2 separate regions of the Homo sapiens genome follow, and region 2 is linked to region 1. Evidence: promoter capture Hi-C in human tissues and cell types (Jung and others, 2019). All regions are on one chromosome and are shown on one strand. Each heading gives the region's core, a stretch centred on a gene start or on the middle of the fragment in contact. The rest is flanking DNA. Distances are from core to core; before and after follow the strand shown. Region 1 holds the start of C19orf25 (chromosome 19 open reading frame 25). Region 2 holds the start of ONECUT3 (one cut homeobox 3).

Region 1 (5,919 bases), core at 675-3,174:
GGCTAGAGTACAGTGGTGCGATTGTAGCTCACTGCAGCCTTGAACCCTGGCCTCAAGCAATCTTCCCTCCTTGGCCTCCCAAAGTGCTGGGATTACAGGCGTGAGCCACTGTGCCTGGCCCTTTCCTCCCTCCCTCCCTTCCTTCCTTTTCTTTACTTCCTTCCTTCTTTCCTTCCTTTCTTCCTTCTCTTTCCTTCCTTTTTTAGTAGAGATGGGTTTCACCATGTTGGCCAGGATGGTCTCGATCTCCTGACCTCGTGATTCGCCCACCTCGGCCTCCCAAAGTGCTGGGATTACAGGCTTGAGCCACCGCACCTGGCCCCTTCCTTCCTTTCCTTTTCTTTCTTTCTTTCCTTCTTTCTCTTTCCTTTTTCTTTCTTCCTCTTTCTTTTCTTTTTCTTTCTCTCTCGCCTTCCTTTCTTCCGTTCTTCCTTCTCTTTCCTTCCTTTCCTTTCTTTTCTCCCTTTTCTTCTTTACTTTCTTCTCTTTATTTCCTTTTTCTTTTTTTTCTTTCTCTCTCTCCTTCCTTCCTTTTTCTTCTCCTTCCTTCTTTCCTTTCTTTCTCTTTCTTTCCTTTTCCCTCTCTCTGTCCCTTCCTTCCTTCCTTCTCTCTCAACAATATTTTTTTTTTTGAGACAGAGTCTTGCTCTGTCGCCCAGGCTGGAGTGCAGTGGCACGATCTCGGCTCACTGCAAGCTCTGCCTCTCGGGTTCATGCCATTCTCCTGCCCCAGCCTCCTGAGTAGCTGGGACTACAGGCAACCGCCACCATGCCTGGTTAATTTTGTTTTTCTTTTTGTATTTTTAGTAGAGACAGGGTTTCACCATGTTAGCCAGGATGGTCTTGATCTCCTGACCTCGTGATCCACCCACCTCGGCCTCCCAAAGCGCTGGGATTACAGGCGTGAGCCAACACACCCAGCCTAATTTTTGTATTTTTAGTAGAGACGGGGTCTCACCATGTTGGCCAGGCTGGTCTCAAACTGGCCTCAAGTGATCTGCCCGCCTCGGCCTCCCAAAGTGCTGGGATTACAGGCATGAGCCACCGCGCCCAGGCTGAATTTACAGTTTAAACAGGCGAATTTGGCCGGGCGCGGTGGCTCACGCCCGTAATCCCAGCACTTTGGGAGGCTGAGGCGGGCGGATTGCCTGAGCTCAGGAGTTTGACACCAGCCTGGGCAACACAGTGAAGCCCCATCTCTACTAAAATACAAAAAAAAATTTTGACGGACGTGGTGGCGGGCGCCTGTAGTCCCAGCTACTCGGGAGGCTGAGGCAGGAGAATTGCTTGAACTCGGGAGGCGGAGGTTGCAGTGAGCTGAGATCACGCCACTGCACTCCGGCCTGGGCGACACAGTGAGACTCTGTCTCTAAAAAAACAAAACAAAACGAAATAAACAGGAGAACTTTATGGTATGTAAACTGCATCTCAATAAAGCCCCTGAGAGAGGAAAAGGGCCCTCTGCTCTTTCTGCCTTCCCAGGCATCAGCGGAGAGGAAAAGGTGACCTCCAGCACCGTCCCCGAGGTGGGAGGACCCGCCTTGGCCGGAAGTGGAGGCGCCGCGACCGCCCCGCCCCCGCTGTGTTCCGGCCGCCGAGTGCTCATGCACCACCAGGCTCCCTTAGGTGGACAGCAATTTTGTGCTCCCGTCAGCCACATGGGTGGCGTGTCCCCTAGTGCCGTGTTCCCCTTTTCAGAAAGACGAGCCTCGGATGCTTTTCTACCCAGCCAGTGGAGCCTGGACTCGAACTCGCTCTCATCGTAGCGCGTCCAGGTTCGGGTTCGCCTGAGAGGCTGAGATCCGAGTCTCAAGGGCACTATCCCTTTAAGACGGGGCGGAGCCCCGCGATGAGCGGCGGGCCGGCGGGAGAGGAGGCCGGAAGTGTGTGTCACGTGTTCGGGGACGGGGCGGTGCTCCGACCGGAATCGGAAGTGGCTGCGTCGTCGACGCTGGGCTTTCGGGTCCCGCGCCCAGGTGGGAAGAGGCCGGCGACTGGGGTGACCGCGGGGAAACTGAGGCAGAGGTTGAGCCAGACCCTGAAGCCTTGGCCACCGTGTTTTTGGGCGGAGGGAGGGTCAGGGCCTGGGGCGAGCTCAGAGGGGCGGGACAGGGCGGGCTTCCCCGGGAGCGGGACCGCGACGGGTGCGTACGAGTTCGCTGGGCGGGAGGAGCAGCCCGGGCAAGGGCGGAGAGGTGGACGCCCCGGTCAGCGCCCCCTTCCCCGCCTTCAGAGATGGGCTCCAAGGCAAAGAAGCGCGTGCTGCTGCCCACCCGCCCAGCGCCCCCCACGGTGGAGCAGATCCTGGAGGATGTGCGGGGTGCGCCGGCAGAGGATCCAGTGTTCACCATCCTGGCCCCGGAAGGTAGGGGGAGCCCGGTCCCGGGGAAAAGCGGACCTGAGACCCCGGCAGCAAGGGGACGGGAGAGAAGCACACCCCTAACTCCTGACCCCACGCCCTGGGAACCCCCGCAACATGGGCACGGTCCGTATCCTCTCCGAGTCTCCCTCTACTCCTCCGTAGAGTGGGACCGATTTTCAGAGGGTTCTTCTGACAGGGGTGGAGGCCGGGCGCTGTGGTTCAGGCCTGTAAGCCCAGCACTTTCGGAGGATGAGGCGGGAGGATCGCTTGAGCCCAGGAGTTCGAGACCAGCCTGGCCAACATGGTGAAACCCCGTCTCTGCTAAAAATGAAAAAACAAAACAAAAACAAAAACAAAAACAAAACAGAGTTAGCTGGGCATAGTGGCAGGCGCCTGTAATCTCAGCTACTCGGGAGGCTGAGGCAGGAGAATCGCTTGAACCCGGGATGCAGAGTTTGCAGTGAGCCGAGATCGCACCACTGCACTCCAGCCCAGGTGACAGTGCGAGACTGTCTCAAAAAAAAAAAAAAATTACTGGGTGTGGTGGTGGACACTTGTAGCCCCAGCTTCTTGGAGGCTAAAGTGGGAGGATACAGCCTAGGCAACACAGCCAGACTGTGTCTCAAAAATAAATAAGTGGCCGGTGCGGTGGCTCACGCCTATAATCCCAGCACTTTGGGAGGCCGAGGTGGGTGGATCACTTGAGGTCAGAGGTTGGACACCAGCCTGGCCAACATGGTGGAACCTTGTCTCTACTAAAAATACAAAAATTAGCCGGGTGTGGTGGCATGGGCCTGTAATCCCAGCCACTCAGGAGACTGAGGCAGGAGAATCACTTGAACCTGGGAGTCGGAGGTTGCAGTGAGCTGAGATCACGCAACTGCACTCCAGCCTGGACCACAGTGAGACTCTGTTTCAATAATTATAATAATAATTAATAAATAGAAATAAATAAAGTAAAACAGAGGTGGTAAGCTAGGGCCCCCCAAACCCTGCCCCTGGCTGTTTTTTTAAGGTCTGGGAGCTATGAATGGACTTCACATTTTTAAATGGGGGTGGGTGAAAAAGAACATTTCTGACACCTGAAAGAGGTATGAAATTCAGATTTCAGTGTTGGTAAGTAAAGGTTTACGGCACACAGCCAAATGATTCACATACGGTTAGTGGCTGCTCTCACACCAGAAGGGCAGAGTTGAGTAGTGGGAGCAGAGACTCCAGCCTTTGGCAGGAAAGCTTGTCCACTCCTGATTTACGAGGTGGAAGCTAGTCAGAGACCAAAGGATTCAGCAGTGCAGTTGGGTGAATTTTGTGTTCTGGATGAGGCTCATTCATTCATTCAACAATCCTTTTCTTGAGCACTTCCTGTGTGCTGGGCTCTGCGCTTAGAGCACTGCTAATGGACAAGTGAACAAAAGAAACAAGAATGTCTGCCCCAGGCTGTTCTGGGGCTGGCGGGAAACAAATGAAGATGAATCGGCCAGGTGCGGTGGCTCACACCTGTAATCCCAGCACTTTGGGTGGCTGAGGTGGGCGGATCATTTGAGGTCAGGAGTTCAAGGCCACCCTGGCCAACATGGTGAAACCCCGTCTCTACTGAGAATACAAAAACATTAGCTGGGCATGGTGGCGCATGCCTGTAATCCCTGCTACTTGGGAGGCTGAGGCAGGAGAATTGCTTGAACCCAGGAGGCGGAGGTTGCAGTGAGCTGAGATCGTGCCACTGTACTCCAGCCTGGGTGACAGAGCAAGACTCTATCTCAAACAAAAAAAAAAAAGAAAAAAGAAAATGAGCCATGTGGAATGATAGAAACTGTGAATTTCTAAGGGAACATTTTTAAAAAGTAATATTAGAAAATTCTGGGGCCAGGTGCAGTGGCTCATGCCTGTAATCCCAGGACTTTGGGAGGCTGAGGCAGGAGGATGACTTGAGGCCAGGAGTTCAAGACCAGCCTTGGCAGCATAGCAAAACCTATATCTACCAAAAATACACAAACTAGCTGGGTGTGGTGGCATGCACCTGTGGTCTTAGCTACTCAGGAGGCTGAGGCAGGAGGGTTGCTTGCGCCCAGGAGTTGGAGTCTCCAGCCTGAGTGACAGAGTGAGACCCTGTCTCTGAAAAAGAAAAAAAGAGAAAAATTGAGTTGTGTTTTCCCTTTAGACATATTTCAAGTGCCCAGGAGCCACACATGGCTGGTGGCTGGTGTGGACCAGCATCGGTGGGAGGTGTGCGCATCATCTGGAAGGTTCTGTGGGCCGGTACTGGTCAAGGTGCATGAGTTGGTTTTATTCCCAGCATGCAGTTCGGTCACCTGAGGGTGCTGGGGCCGTGGTTTGAGCTTCATGGGCTCAGGTCCATGGCCGTTGAGTGTGGCGAAACTGAGGCACGCTGTGCGGGGGACGGGGGGCGCTCACAGAAGGTAGGGGGCCTCCTGTGCCTTCATCCAGGCACTGCCCGGCCTTTCCCACCCTGTTGCTAAAGCAGGTGATGACAGAGGTGATTTGATCAGCCCAGACCCGTGCGGCACGTGGAGCCTTCGTCCGTGGGAGACCACACTGCCGAGGGGCAGGCCAGAGCCGAGGGGCCCCTGACGCTTCTCTGAGTGACCCTGAAGTCGGTGCTGCTTCAGCCCTGCTGCACTGGGCTTGCATACGTGGGGGAGCAGGGAGCCATACGTAGTTTCTGCTGAATGTGGGAGTCACCAGGACGTCAATGCCCACCTCTCACCTTCGCCACCCCTGCCTCCCTAAGTGTGTGCTCCAGGAGGTTGCACGGCCCCTGGAGAGGTTTTCGGTGGCGGGCTTGTTGCGTCTCTGGCTTCCAGAGACAGCAGGAATGAGAGCCAGGCCAGCTCAGTGGAGTCCATCCCGGTGGGTGCCACGGCTTTTGCAGGAATGGAAGCCCCGCCCCCAGGAGGGCCACTGCTGGCGAGGCTTGAGCTCTTTCTGTGACCCGATCCCCCTGGTCACACGCTTTGCTAAGGCGGGTAGCCTAGAGCTGGAAGCCCCTCCTGCCACCCAGCCACTGTGCCTCTCCCAGCTGATGGACGAGGAAGCCTCCATTACTTGATTTTTGTTTTTATTTATTTTTGAGACAGGGTCTCATTCTGTCACCCAGGCTGGAGTACCGTGGCACGATCATAGCTTATTGCAGCCTCGGCCTCCCAGTCTCAAGCGATCCTCCTGCCTCTGCCTCCAGAGAAGTAGGGACCACAGATGCGTGCTACCACGCCCAGCTAATTTTTGTATTTGTATTTTTTGGTAGAGATGGGGGTGTCACTATGTTGTCCAGGCTGGTCTCTAACTCTTGGGCTCAAGTGTTCCTCCCGCCTCGGCCTCCCAAAGTGCTGGATTACAGGCGTGAGCCACCACACCTGGCTGCATCCGTCATGTTAAGAAGACCCCGGCTGGCAAGCTCACTCGGGGACTGCAGGGAACCCTGCCCTTTGGGGGCAGTAGTGAGGGGTGCCCAGGAGGATGGGGTGGTCAGCAGGCAGTGATGCTGCTGTGTCCTGTCTCAGACCCCCCAGTTCCCTTCAGGATGATGGAGGATGCGGAGG
Region 2 (5,939 bases), core at 3,383-5,882, 270 kb before region 1:
CCTCTCCGTCTGCACCTGCGGGTCTTTCTCCCTCCCTGTCCCCGTCTCTGTCCTGGCCCCGGCGCCCGGCAGGACACTCGGCACCTGCGGAAACGCGTGGCCCGCCCCGAGCCGGGCAAGCGCGACGGGAGACCCGGGGCGCAAAGTTCTCCTTGGAGGAGGCCTGGGGAGGCCCGCGGTGCTCGCGGAGCGGGGAATGGGGATGCCGGAGTAGAAAGGGCGGCGAGTCCTCTGCTGCGGGGTTGAAATGGTGCGGGGGCGGGGCGGGGGCAGAGTTCCCTTTCCGAGCACCAGCGTTGGGGCGTCGCCGTGTTAGGTGGAGATGGGGACGCATCCGGCCGTCTCCCCCTAACCGCCGCGATTTGCCGCCACTTAACCGCTTTTCATTTGCGCAGCGACCGGAACTAAAGGCCTGGGCCGGAGCCTAGTGACCCCGCGGCCCTCGCCCCCGCCACCTCTTACGCCCCAGGCGGAGTCCGGTGGTGTAGACGCGGCCCCCAGGGCACCTGAGACGCGACAGGTGCGCAAGGTTGACGGCGTGAACCCCGCGGCCGCGGGGCCGCGCGGCGGGGCCACGGCGTGGGCAGCGGACCCGGCAGAGAGCAGGCGGGCAGCGTGGTCCGGGTTTATCATCCTCAACGCCCCAGCGCCCTGCGGGAGGCTCGGGGTGCCAGGAGCTGCGCTCACCCCTCCGGTTCCCCCACGCACCCCTGAGACGGCGACTGTTCTAACTCTCCCTTCCTCGACAGGAAACCCAGACTCCCAGAGCTGAGACTGTTTGTCATTGTCACAAGTCAGGAAGGCGAGGCACAAACGGAGCCTGTTTCCCCATCTGCAACTCTCCCCGTGGCAGAAAGGGGACGGCGGAGGCCTGGATGGCTGTGGGGTCGGCAGGAGCGAACACCCACCTGGGTGCAGGGTCAGGTGCAGGCGAAGCAGGCGGTGTCCACTCAGGGCGGGTGCTGGGTGCTGCTGACCCGGCTGCGGGGAGCCCACCCCCCCCCCATGGGACTTCTCGCCTGCGGTTTGCCCTTCTGTGACGCTCTGGCTGATGTTTTCTGTGGCCCCCAAATCTGCAATTCCAGTACTGCTAATGGGTCATTAGTTACATAACGTGACAGTGGGAAAAATGGAGAGTGGTGTGGACTCTGGGTGCACCCACGGTGGACACAATGTCCCCCAAATATGTGCTAGAGAGGAGGCAGGAGGTGGTGGGTATCGGGCTATAGAAACTGTCCCTGCCTTACTGGTGTGATGGCAACCAGTTGGTGTTTAAACGTCAGAGGGAGGCCCGGCGGGGTGGCTCAAGCCTGTGTAATCCCAGCACTTTGGGAGGCAGAAGCGGGCGGATCACCTGAGGTCAGGAGTTTGAGACCAGCCTGGCCAACATGGTGAAACTCCATCTCTACTAAAAATACAAAAAAAAAAAAAAAAAAAAAAAATAGCCAGGCGTGGTGGCGGGCGTCTGTAATCCCAGCTATTCAGGAGGCTAAGGCGGAAGAATCGCTTGAACCTGGGAGGCAGAGGCTGCAGTGAGCCGAGATCGCACCACTACACTACAGCCTGGGCGACAAGAGTGAAACTCCGTCTCAATAAATAAATAGAGCTGCCAGGGGTGTGCCCTCTGCCACCTGAGGCCTCGCACTGCACCTCGAGGGCCGTGGCTGTGTGCGGATATGACCGCCGGTCTATGGTGAGCGCACGAGTGCCGCTGTATGTGTCATGGGGAGGGGAGCAGGACAGACTGAAATCGTCCAGGTTCCCGGACCTCCCTGAGCACAAGGTTACCCTGCCACACGCGAAAGACTATTTATTTTCCCGTGCCCCAAAGCAGAAAAATCTAAGAATCCCATAAGAGGTTCCAGCTAGTCACCTTGCTTGCTCTGCAGAAGGGGGAAACTGAGGCCGGCCTGTGGGTCCAGGCTCCCAGGGGGTTGTCTGGTCCTCCTGGGGTGGAGGGAGGGAATGGCTTTCTAGGGAGGAACAGCACAGGACACCCCGCTGTCCTCTCTTCGCCCAGCCCCCCTGCCTGGACGGGCTGCCTGGGGGCACAGCCGCAAGCCCCTCTGCCTCTTTGCTAGTGGGGCGCCTCCCAGAGCCCCCGCCTTTCTCGCCCTTGTGCTCGGAGAAGCGATCGATCAGGCGCCAGCCGCCGCGGCTATTGTCCCTGTGGCCCGGGTGGACAGCCCCCTCCCCAGCACCACCAGGGAAAGAAACCCCCACCTAGGCCAGGGGCCCTCCTGCACCCTTACACCCCCACCTAGGAAATGGGGGCCTGGCCGGGCTGCCTGTCAGAGGGCAGGTGTGGACTTAGCTGTTGTCAGCTGGGAGGGAGGAGGGAGGAGGGTCCCCAGGGGGCCGGTGGCTGAGTATGAGACAGAGACAGAGGCGGAGAGACCGACAGGGAGAAGAGATAATGAGCAGGAACAAGAGCAAAACGGAGAGCAAGAGAAAAACATAGAGATACCAGTGTGTTCCGACCGAGAGAGGAGAGAAGTGGACATGAGAGACACAAAACCCCAAAGCCAGGCGGGCAGGGGCGCGCGCACCCGAGCCACGACCAAACTGCGCGGGGCGGGCGCCGGGTCGGGGTGTGAAGGCCTCCGGGCGGCGCGGGCCGAGGGTCCCCGGGGCCGCCCCTCCCCCGCCATTCTCGGGTGACCTTTGCCAGCGGCCGGAGGGGAGAGGGAGGGGGTATCGATCGCGGGGCCGAACTACAAAGAAGCGCGCGCTGGGGCAGGTGGGGGGATGAGCGCGGGCTCGGCCTCTGCTGCTGAGCTGCAGGCGCCCGCCGCAACGTCTCGGAGCTCTGTGGCCCGGGGCTGGGGGCTCAACAGCCCCTCTCCACCCACTCTGGAGGAGGGGAGTGGCACCTTAGCCGACAACAGCAGCTCGTTCGGGGACACAGCTCCCCCCAACAGGCGCGCGCTCACACACACACACGCACACACACAATGAGCTTCCCTGAGGGCTGCTTGGGGAGAGGCTCGGAGCCTCCCAGCAGTCTAACAAGGACTAGAGAACCCCTACGCGCTCCCGAAAGGGGCAGAAGCGGCGACCGGGGGGCGGGGAGGCGGCACAATCCCTTTCTCCCTTTTGGCAACGGTACAAACGGGCAGCGGCGCGGATCGCGGTCTAGCTTCCTGATAGGGGGTCCCGGGCTGCCGGGGCGCACGGGCGGGGCTTGGGGCGCTGGCCCCGGGCATCGGCCGCCGCCCCGCTAGGTGCTCGGGAGTCCAGAGCCGGCGCCCCCAGGGTCTGGCCCTGCGCGCCACGCTCCTACCTGCCAAGCGCAGCGCCGACATGCGCTGGAACTCTGGCTCCTGCAGCCACTTCCACATCCTGCGGAAGGTCTCGCGGCCGGATTTGAGCTTGCTCCACGGCTTGGGGTTGCGCAGCAGGTCGGAGAGCGTGCCCTGAGAGCGACACAGGATCCGCTGCGCGAAGATTGCCTGCGGGATGCTGTAGCGCTTCAGCTCCGCCGTGATGCGCTGCGCCACCTCCTTGGTGTTGATCTCCTCGGCCGCTGCGCCCGCGCTGGGGCCGCCGCCGCTCCCGCCGGGGCCGCCGCCTCCCCCGTGCGGCCCGTGCGCCCCGGCCGCCGCCAGCCCGCCCAGCGGCGCCAGCAGCCCCGCGGCGCTCCCGCTGCCCGCTCCGCCGCTGCCTGTGCCGCCGCCGCCTCCGGGCAGCCCGCGGGCCAGTGCGTCCTCCGCGCGTCCCAGCAGCGCGGCGTGCGGCTCGAAGGCGGCGGGCGGCAGCAGCTTGTCCCCAGCCAGGTGGCCTGGCGGGCCGTAGGCGGCCAGCGGCGGGGGTGGTGGCGGCGGCGGGGGCTGCGGGGCGCCGTGCAGCGCGGGCGGCAGCGCGTTGGGCAGCGGCGACAGCGGCGACCCCATGGCGGGCAGCTCCTTGCCGTAGGGTCCGTAGAGGTGGCCCACGGAGGCGAGCGCCGCCCGCTCGTCGCGCATGAGGGTGAAGCTGCCGCTCACGCTGGCCGCCAGACGCTGCGGCGGGGGTGGCGGGGGCGGCGCGGCCGCCGGGTGCGGGTGCGCGTGGGGATGGCCGCCGTGCGCCCCGGCCACGGCCGCGGCCGCCGCGTGCTGGTGGAACTTGTCGGCCACGGCCGCGAGCGGCGGCAGGTGCTGCAGGGGCGTGAGCGTCGTGTAGGTGCCGCCCAGGCCCGGCGCCTCGCAGGCCATGCCCATTGCCGGGTGCAGCGGGCCCGCCAGTTCCCCGCGGAAGTCCGCGCCGCCGCCCGCGCTGCCCGCGCCGCCCGCGCCCCCGGCGCCCCCACCGCCGCCGCCGCCGCCGCCGTCCAGCAGGCTCGCCATGCCGGCCACCAGGCCCGGGCGCCCGGGCGCCACCAGGCCGCGGTGCTGCGCCGCCGCCGAGCGCGCGTGGCCCGGGCTCAGCAGCTCGCCCGCCTGCGCGTGGGCCACGCTGTGCAGGCCCCCCAGGCTCTCCAGGCTCAGCTCCATGCTCGGCTGCCCTCCCGCCGCGCGCGCTCCTCAGCGCCGGCCCCTAGTGCTCAAGGCCGCTGCATGACTCCCGCCCGCTCCCCGGTGGCTGCGCGCGAGGCTGCCAGGCTGCGCGGCGCACGGCCCGGCCCGGCTGCGAGCGCGGCCACCAGGATGTGGCAGGGGAGCGGCCGCCGGCGCCCGGGCCCGGGTCTGACGTCAGCGCCCCCGCCCACCCGCTCCTGCCACCGCTGCCTCCCGCAGCCTCGCTCTCCGCCCGCCCCGGCCCCACTCGAGCACCAAGCAGGCCGAAGTCGGCCAGACTTGGGGCTTCGGCGTCCCTGGCCACTGCGCCCGCCCGCGCCCGCTGGGGCAGGCCGTACCCGGGGGACAGCGGGCGGGGGTCCGAGGACAGACTCTGCCCAGGTGGGGCTGGGGGCCTCGACCCAGAGTCTCCGATTTCGCGTCTCTGTGTGATTCTCTCCAGAGTCCCAGATGTGGCTTTCTGCCTGGCACCCCCAAGTCCATCTCCAGGGAGTTTCTGGGAGTGTGGCTGGACGGTCGCCTGTAATGTACGTGTCCCCCCCCCCCCCCGTTCCCTACAGACCCCCAGGAGCTAGATCCCCACTGCAAGCTCAGCTTCCCCCGACTCCCACTCACACCTACGGAGTCACAGCCCCCTTCCCACAACCTCTTTGTGGAGGAAGTGGGGGAAAAGGGAGGTCCTAAGGCTAGGTCAGGGCCTCCGTGCGCCCCAGGGGTCAGCCTCTGCCCATGTGTGGGCACCTGGGCCTCCGTTTCCCCAACTGTACAATGGGCTGCCCGGCCTCGGGGTTGCCAAAGGCCCCTTCTAATTGCAGGGCCTTTTTACAGTGCGGCCGCTGGAGGCACTGGAGCCTGGGGGTGACCACTAAGAGCCCCTGTCACCCTCCAGCCCACGGAGGCTGAGGCTGGATCCCCTGTCTTCTGAGACGTCGCTGGTGCAAACTCCTCTTTGTCCCTGGGGCTTCTCTTCAATGTGGGGGGAGGCAGGGGTCTCCTTTTTCTCAGCACCTGGAGACAGGTGAGCCCCAGGGGCCCCTGGGAACTGGGATAGATGGGGGAAGGGCTCCTATAATCAGAGAGACCCCCAGGGGACTAGATCCCGCCAGTGGGGTAAGGTCAGGGCTGCGGATCTGGAGGGGCCAGACCAGAATCTAGAGGATGCTCTGTCTTGTAGGCCAGAGGCTACGGTGCAGAGTCCAAAACCAGCCTCAGCCCCTTCCTGCTTCCCCGTTGCCTCTGCCCCCCCCACCCCCGGGGTAACGCTTGTGCACTTTCTAGAAGAGGAAGGGGATGGGTCAGGCAGTCGGTTCGCGGGAGCCCCCAGTTACCCCCATCTCAGAGGGTTGCATCAGGGCTCAAAGCTGAAGGAAGAGGGGAGGACACAGTCAGGCTGTCACTTCCCCTTTGGTGCAAACCTTCTGGGCAAACCCCGGCCCCAGC

The links. The method cuts DNA at HindIII sites, captures the fragments that hold promoters and counts their contacts. A contact is called where the count stands out against the background at its distance.
Region 2: the fragment with the promoter of ONECUT3 here is called in contact with the fragment with the promoter of C19orf25 in region 1 in 11 of the 25 tissues and cell types used here (H1 embryonic stem cells, IMR-90 fibroblasts, bladder and 8 more).

The regions. Positions count from the first base shown.
Region 1 is chr19:1,475,220-1,481,138 of GRCh38, reverse strand. It overlaps C19orf25 (chromosome 19 open reading frame 25), which reads left to right and starts at 1,924. Exons shown (of 3, transcript NM_152482.3): 1 at 1,924-1,976; 2 at 2,234-2,365; 3 at 5,881-5,919. The coding sequence starts at 2,236. RefSeq lists enhancers at 1,758-1,877, 2,239-2,739 and a silencer at 2,098-2,147. The HindIII fragment of the contact is 27,509 bases long and covers 1-5,274 here.
Region 2 is chr19:1,752,199-1,758,137 of GRCh38, reverse strand. It overlaps ONECUT3 (one cut homeobox 3), which reads right to left and starts at 4,632. Exons shown (of 2, transcript NM_001080488.2): 1 at 3,284-4,632. The coding sequence starts at 4,475. RefSeq lists enhancers at 1-346, 347-936. The HindIII fragment of the contact is 24,245 bases long and covers 1-5,939 here.